Linked DNA regions of Homo sapiens: all the other regions are linked to region 2. The links are contacts of gene promoters, found by promoter capture Hi-C in blood cells and fetal thymus (Javierre and others, 2016). All regions are on one chromosome and are shown on one strand. Each heading gives the region's core, a stretch centred on a gene start or on the middle of the fragment in contact. The rest is flanking DNA. Distances are from core to core; before and after follow the strand shown. Region 1 overlaps LOC105372774 (a long non-coding RNA gene). Region 2 holds the start of KRTAP13-2 (keratin associated protein 13-2). Region 3 has its middle 16 kb from the start of KRTAP19-8.

What was found. Contacts are between HindIII fragments. The CHiCAGO score rates a contact against its expected background, and 5 or more counts as called.
Region 1: a fragment that was not itself captured here is called in contact with the fragment with the promoter of KRTAP13-2 in region 2 in 1 of 17 cell types (activated CD4 T cells); the score reaches 5.5 in activated CD4 T cells.
Region 3: a contact is called between a fragment that was not itself captured here and the fragment with the promoter of KRTAP13-2 in region 2, in 4 of 17 cell types (naive CD8 T cells, M1 macrophages, activated CD4 T cells and 1 more). The highest score is 6.4, in naive CD8 T cells.

The regions. Positions count from the first base shown.
Region 1 is chr21:31,032,908-31,035,607 of GRCh38, forward strand. It overlaps LOC105372774 (a long non-coding RNA gene), which reads left to right. Exons shown (of 3, transcript XR_937657.2): 2 at 1,547-1,641. Among named protein-coding and RNA genes, the nearest start is that of KRTAP19-8, 4.2 kb to the right of the region's middle. The HindIII fragment of the contact is 909 bases long and covers 949-1,857 here.
Region 2 is chr21:30,370,922-30,373,621 of GRCh38, forward strand. KRTAP13-2 (keratin associated protein 13-2) reads right to left here and starts at 1,350. Exons shown (of 1, transcript NM_181621.4): 1 at 469-1,350. The coding sequence starts at 1,292. The coding sequence ends at 765. The HindIII fragment of the contact is 2,756 bases long and covers 1-2,168 here.
Region 3 is chr21:31,052,875-31,055,574 of GRCh38, forward strand. No RefSeq gene overlaps it. Among named protein-coding and RNA genes, the nearest start is that of KRTAP19-8, 16 kb to the left of the region's middle. The HindIII fragment of the contact is 7,679 bases long and covers 1-2,700 here.

The DNA.
Region 1 (2,700 bases), core at 153-2,652, 660 kb after region 2:
ATACTATAAAGCTGTATTTGGCCCTGTTTTGTCAATGTTTCTTTCATTGACTTGGGCCAATGAGATTGTGTTAATGAATTTACCCAAACTGACTTGGGTCAATGAACAAAAACGGAGAAGCAATGTACATTAAAGAGATAAGTGAAATAAAGCTGGGCCAAACATTGGGTAACACAGCCGAAATTAAGAAGAGTCATGGCAAACTAAAAAAAAAACAAGCATTTCAATCAACTAAAATGAAGATTAATTAGTTTCCTTAATGACTTCGGCAGCTAGGAACCTCAGAGCTAGGTTTTTCTTAACTCAATTACAGTTTTCCCTTAGCCTAGGTTATCTAGCATAGTTGCCCTGCCTCTTGTCCTTTGTCTCTAATGCTTGATGGTTTTAATGTGATACTTTGTTTTACTGTAAATCACCTGAAAGCTTATTAGGACGTACACAAGATATAAAATATGACAAAATGGAAAAAAATCTGTTTTCTAAAATTTCTGGGGTCCTAAAGAAAAGAGCAGAAAGGGATTTTTCTCAAGGAGATCCAGAAACAGAATCACTTTCTTAAAGATTCACATAATGAATGGGTCACACATGGAGAGTGTGAGCTTGGGCAAAGCTAGGCTGGAATAGGCTCCAAGGCAAGATGGTGGAGGAAATGGCCTTACCTGATCATTTTTCCATCACACTCTGTGCCCCTCCCACCCTGAAACTTCAGTGAAAGTCCTAATCTGCCAAAATGCTATTATGTAAATGGGATTTTTTTTTCTTGGTGCAGATGGTTAAGGCCAGGTGGAGAAAGAAGATGGCACAAACTGAGTTACATAGACAGAAATGGGAGTAAGGAAAAGAGAGACTTTGAGCTATTATACATCTTTGAATGCTTTTATCATAATTGATGAGACACAGGAAGATGCCACAGGAAGACTGAAAAAATAAATTAATAATTATCAGATAAGCTTTAGTTCCTACCCTCATGTACCCTAAACCATTTGGCAAGGTTAGTCCTGAAGAAATTCATCCATTTAATGAGGGATTCAGTGCTCTCTCTCTAGATTTATTTTTAAAACCTAAGATTTTGAAAATATAGACATCTTTGTTATGTTTATAAGATTTAAAATTCAAATATTTTGTAGATTTAATACCTGTAACATATAATGATATGAAAGTACATAGATATATGAATCTAGATACTTAAGACCTGGAGTTCCAATAAGGCAGCTTGTACCGTTTTAGAGTGACAAAAAAGGTATCAGCCTAGAAAAACTTTCTATCAAGTGTGGAAAATTTACCCTGATCTTTCCACATCTCCATCATATGCATGTTTGAGCTACAATAAATTTAAAACAGAAATGGAGCAAGGGGTCCCTAAGATATGCAAAACAATCCAGAAAAGTAACTGTGGAAAGACCACCAATTCTCCCTTTTCGGGGCACACAGAGACAAAAGGTTGAATACTTGCTAATGGGAAAAGGAGCAGAACTAATATGTTTCATCTCATCCAAAGCAGTCAAAGGCAGCTATGTTTTCTCTATGTTCTCTTCTCTCCCTTTAGTGTGGCTGGAACAATGAGATAGCAGAGCTGTAAGACATAGCAGCCCAGATCCCTGAGTCACTATAGGAGAGCTCCAAGGAGAAGTGACTCACTGAGTAAGACTTAGACAAGAGTCATAAATAACTTTACTGGATTAAGCCTGAGATTTGAGGGTGTACTTGTTACTGCAGCATAGTCTGTATTATCCTGACTAATACCAAAACATTATTCCAAATCATAAACACAAATATTTCCTGATCTGAAGTCAATTGGGATTCAACTGTTTCAAATTACCTACAACACAAATTAGACATTATAGAGGAACTAGCAAAAGCTTACTTCTTTATTTATAGATATTTATCATCTACTGTCAACTAATAATAGATAAGAAAATAGCCAATAAATCAGGGACATTTACAAAATGCACAGAGATTTTGTTTTGTTTTACTACTTCCAAGCACCTCCCAGATAGTAGTCACCAAAGTTTAATTTAAAAAATATGAATTTTGGCTGGATGCAGTGGCTCACACCTGTAATCCCAGCACTTTGGGAGGCTGAGGCAGGTGAATTGCTTGAGCTCAGGGGTTCAAGACCAGTTTAGGCAACATGGTGAAACCCTGTCTCTACCAAAAATACAAAAATTAGCCGGGCATGGAGGTGCATGCTCCCCAGCTACTCAGGAGGCTGAGGCATGAGAATCACTTGAGCCCAGGAGGCAGAGGTTGCAGTGAGCCGAGATCATGCTACTGCACTCCAGCCTGGGTGACAGAGTAAGACCTGTCTCAAAAAATAAAATAAAAATAAAAAAATACTAATTTTAAGCAACACTGAAAAATTATTCCTAACCAATGTTCTGAACCTTATCAGACCCCAGCTTATTTTGCCACATAGGATTAGTGCCAATTAGGTTCCAGCACAAACAGGTGTTTTTAAAGCCTCCAGTCCTGGCATCATGGGGGGTAGAGAATGTCATCTCTCTCTGGGTCATCCGAATCGTTCTTAAAGGCTTCCTTTAAGACGTGAGCTTGGCATTCTATTTAGCTGGTGAATTGGGGATGAATGTACATTTTTCTTCTAAGCCTTGAAAGTTTAATCCATTCTGTGCAAGATAAATCTCAGCAGGCATTTGGGGAAAGTTGAATTTACTGAGAGGTTCATATGTGGTACATTATTTT
Region 2 (2,700 bases), core at 100-2,599:
ATAATTAATTTTCTCCTATATTTAAACACAACCGTAATGTCCTCCAGTACCTAACATTTCATATTTTCCCTTTTCCATCATAACATTTCAGATTTATTCAAATATTTCATAATTTTATATTTAATCACCTAGTTGACATCTTCTGAGAAAACTCTAAATACTCTTTTAAAAATGTAAACAAAAAGCAAATATGATTGTCAGCAAAATGTGTCTTCCTTGAAAACACACCACCATTATGAGTGTACTCTCAATAATTCTGTTAAGAATCCAACCAGTTTTCATGGCAGAAGACATGCACTTGCTCAGTCTTTTAGGCACTGGCATGCCCGGAGAATCTCCCCACACACTAGGCCTGATGACATTACCGATGGAAATGGATGTCCAAGGAAAAGACGTCTGGGGGCCTGGAGCCCCCAAAACAGATCACAAATCAAACTTTGGAAACCAATAAAAGACAAAGAGAACATATTGGAATCAACAGTAAATGAATTTATTACGTGAAACAAAACTGAACTTCCATATACTTTATAAGATGAACTTACGTGATAACGAATCACTTGTTTCAAAATTATAGACATTTGACTCTATATTTTGCTCATTCATTAATTTCACAGTCTGAAAGAACTAGCCTGTCCAGCCAGTACTTGATGCCAGAGAAAGGATGAAGAGCTAGTAGTAAGAGGGGTTAGCTCACATTGCTGGAAATGCCTATGATAACAGCTCTACGTAGAGACTGAGACACTTTGCTTAAAAGGTCTGGAAATTCAGCAAGTTGATCTGCAGAAGGTTGATCCATAGGCTGGTCTGTAACAAGGAGACTGGCAGCTCCTAGAAGCCAAGTAGGTTGGGCGGCAGAATCCAGATCCATAGCCGAGGGAAGGGAAGCCACAGCTTCCATAACCCAGGGATCTGACACCACTGGACCCACAGCCCACTGAGTAGCAGCTCCTCGATCCATAGCCCAGGGAGCGGCAGCTGCTGGATCCAAAGCCTAGAGACCCAGAGTAAGTCGTCTTGCAAGGACTGCAGAGCAAGGAGGTTCTGGGGCGGTAGCAGGAGGTCTGGCAGGGGCTGGACTCCACATAGGACGTCTGGCAGCTGGTGGGCTCCCAGCAGATCTCCTGACAGCCCCTATAGAGAGAGGAACCCAGCTGGCAGGTGCTGGGAGAGCAGAGGTCAGTGCTGTAGACCAGATTGCTGGGGTAGGAAAAGCCACGTGAGGATGCTGGGTAGCGCAGGTAGTCACCACAGGAGCGGGAGGAGAAGTTTCCAGAGCAGCAGTTGTAGGACATGTTGACGGGAGATGTGAGTTCAGCTGAGTTATAGTGGAAAGATTCTCTGAGTTTGAATGTCATAGTCTGGACTCCAAGTTATATATGCTCTTAGACCTGGGTGTGTCCACTGTCTCGACACTCCCTTCTCCTTGCTCACTTTTTATTATAAGAATGCTTCCCTAGGTTATTGTTTAATTTATCACATCTTCATATACTTACTTGTACTTTAGTCACTCTGGAACACTTAGAAGGAAGCCACTCAGTTTTTTTTTTTCCTGGAATTCACTGTGGTTTGACCTTCAATGTTATATGTCATCACATTTATGAGTATCTTGCCTCTTATTATTTGAGTACAGTGAGTCCTTATTGTACCAAATGGAATTACACAAAATTCTTTCTTTACTTCCCTTAAGTTATCAGGAGCATCAGTGGTTACTACTCAAAATAGATTGTCCTTCTTTTTAACACAAGCATATTATTTGTTACCAGAAACGGAGGATTTCTCCAAATACTAACTGTATTCAGTAGCCTCAGCAATCTGTCAGTTAAACCTTTTACTAGTACCTTAAGAGCTCAGGATCAGAACTGAGGAGTGCAGCATTATGTTGGGTGTCCATATCAGGCATCTTCCTTAACAAGAGGCTACTTTAGACAATGCTCACTTAGGAAACAATAAACACAAACTTTTTAGTAAGACTTTAAATTGAAGTTTTTCAGATATTTTCTGATGAACCTATCTTGTAGCAAGCACTATTCTATGGTTATGCTCTAAATCAACTCATAAATTTTATTTTGTTTTATGTTTCAATTTTTTTTTCTGGATAAAAGGACAGATTCTTAGCTGCAATTATTAATTTATACTTAAACTTTGAGGAATTGTTAACATTTTTCTGAAGCTTTTAACTTGAAGTATTAGAGTTATATGGGTCTTTAAACATCCCCTGTTCAACCCATACATGGAAAAATTACCTCTCAGAGAGCTTTAACTTTCCCCTAATTTCTCAGTAAGATAGAAGCAAAATTGAAGCTTTAATTATGGTTTTCTTATTCAGAGTCAAGTTGCAAATACCTTGCAAATATAAAAGTAAATTCAACTTTAACTTGTCTCAGAAAAGAAACTATTAAGCTTATTTATACTAAGATATAAAAGCCTAACAAAGCCTTATTTACTTTTCCTAACAATATTCACACTGAATAGTGTTCAACTGGGGAATTCTATGCCTTACTGATCTTCATACATTTGAAGTATATTTCACTTCCTAGCCCAAGAAAGAGAAAGAATATTGGTAATCCATGTTTAGATTAATGGGGGGAAGAGGCTTCTTATCTGTGTCTATTCTTCTTCTTTTGAATTTGACATTTTATTTGGTTTAACTAAGGGAAATGGCATTCACAATGGTTATCGAAAAGAGAGCCTCTTAACTAC
Region 3 (2,700 bases), core at 186-2,685, 680 kb after region 2:
AGCGGGGGCTCCTTAAAGCAGGGACTGCTGGTATGTGCTCAGCCCCTCACACAGCCTCACCACAGTAGGGGACCTGATAAATCATAATGGGCTAAATGAGTGCCGGAGTGATCCATGAGTAAGCATCTGAGAGAGGCAGTGGAAGGATGGGGGGGCAAGAGGAAGTGGTTCCATCAGCTGCCACTTACTCTTTTTCTCACAGTATACCTTCTCTTGTCAATTTTTGTTTTGTTTCTTTGAGACAAGGTCTTGCTCTGTCACCCAGGCTAGAGTGCAGTGGCGCAATCTTGGCTCACTACAGGCTCAACCTCCCAGGCTCAAGCAATTCTGCCTCAGGCCCTCAAATAGCTGGGACAAAAGGCACGCACCTCCATGTCTGACTAATTTTTGTATTTTTTGTAGAGACGGGGTCTTGACTTGTTGCCCAGGCTGGTCTCGAACTCCTAGGCTCAAGCAATCTGGCCACCTCAGTCTCCCAAAGTGCTGGGATTACAGGTTGAGCCACCACACCCAGCCTGTTTGTCAGTTCTAATAAAATTTCCCTGTGTGGAAGACTTGTAGGGGAGGAGACAAGAGGGAATTTCTGATTTTCATTGAGTCCCACTGTGCCCTCGGGATGATCCTGGGTCGTACACAGCCCAGAGCCCAACTCTGGCCATAGGAACATTGTTATAGGCTGAACTATTAACTTCCCAAATTCACATGTTGAAGCCCTAACCTCCAGAACCCAAGAATGTGATTGCATCTGGAGATATGGCCTGGAAAGAGATGATTAGGTTAAAGAGGTTGGTAGGGTGGGACCTAACAAAATCTAAGTGGAGTTTGTATAAGAAAAGGATATTTGGTGGTCGGGTGCGGTGGCTCATGCCTGTAATCCCAGCACTTTGGGAGGCCGAGGAGGGCAGATCACGAGGTCAGGAGATCGAGACCATCCTGGCTAACACAGTGAAACCCTGTCTCTACTAAAAAATACAAAAAAAAAAAAAAAAATTAGCCCAGCATGGTGGCGTGTGCCTGTAGTCCCAGCTACTCGGGACGCTGAGGCAGGAGAATCATTTGAACCCGGGAGGCAGAGGTTGCAGTGAGCCGAGATCGTGCCACTGCACTCCAGCCTGGTCGACAGAGCAAGACTCCATCTTTAAAAAAAAAAAAAAAGGATATTTGGGCACACAGAGAAACACTAGGAATGTGCACACATGGAGAGAAGACCACACGAGTTCACAGCAAGGAGGTGGCCCAGCTACAAGGCAAGGAGAGAGGCCTTAGAAAAAAACAATCCCACTGGCCTTGATTTTGGAGTTCCAGCCTCCTGAACTGTGAGAAAATAAATTTCTGTTGTTCAAGCCACCCAGTCTGTAGCATTTTTTTATCGCAGCCTGAACAGACTAATACAAACATTAATAGTCTTATTACATCATGGATAACTTCAATAGACAATGGTAAGTTGGACAGAGCAGACCTCCATCCAGGGAAATGCTGTGGGCGGGGGTAAAGGACACAGATTTTGCAATGATATCCCAAAGCCACCACTTGCTCCCTTGGGCATGTTACTTAACCTGTGAATCCATATCCTCTTCTATGAAATGACACTCATGGAAGGATCACAGGAGATAAGGTTTATAAAAGCATTTTTCATAGTTCTTAAAGGTCACTGCTCAACACATGCCAATGCCCTGCCCTCATCTTTCTGTCCAACTCGGTTACATAGGAGTAGTAAGGCCCTGGTTCTAAGAGAATTGGAAAATGCCAGATAGATTAGTAAAAATTATTGAGTGAAATAAATGCATATAAGCCTGAGTGTGTGCACAAATGCATGGATGAGGTTCCTAACATAAGGCAGGTGTGGCTGTTCTCTGAGCCTATTGTGTAAGTGTAAGCCTGGGATCCATTCTAATGAGTGGTTTTGTGCTATAATTGTAGTTGGATAGTCTGACTAACACCAGAGGCCACAGGTGACCCTGGTGGAACATTTGGAAGAAAAAGCCAGAATTTGATGGAGTACTTCACCAGTTTCCAAATGCCAAATAGAACTAAAATCGTATTACCGGCCAAGTAAAGAAGAATCCAGCTGAATTATTAAGAACATGAGTCATTTTGAGGCTCCTTGGAATTAACCATGTCTCTGAGAATTCACATTCTTTTGTAAAGATCTCCCTTAAATAACTATTTTAGTGTTACCTTTCCAAGGAGAAGAGACCTCTTAAAATCCCTTGGTTCCTGTTGAGCTGCCAGATCCCGAGGTGATCAAACAGGACAACAAGCCAAACTGAAAGAAACAACCAGGCCTTTATTCATTTACCACGAGAGTGAAGGCAAGAGACAAACAGAAAAAGGAAGGAGGGGGAAGAACTAGGGTTAAAAAGTACTGGGTCAGAGTACCCAATGGAGAGAAGAGTCTTAGTCAAGGTCCCCCTATAAGGAACATCTTGGTGGATGTACCTGAAAAGTGCCCCCGCCTCTAGCAGGGCTATAGATAAGGAGGACCCCAAATAGAGATGTCTTGGCTATGAATGCAAATATCTGTAAGTATGAGCAGTAAGTGTGGAGGGACTTGAATCCTTGACTGCACCTCCCTCCTCCAGACACTACGATGTGGGGAGGACAACTCTCTCCCATGAGACCTGCCAGGAAAAGCCTTGCAATTGCCTTTGGTCAGACCTGAGAGATCATACCTAGGACTTCAACCTGGAGCTGGACTCT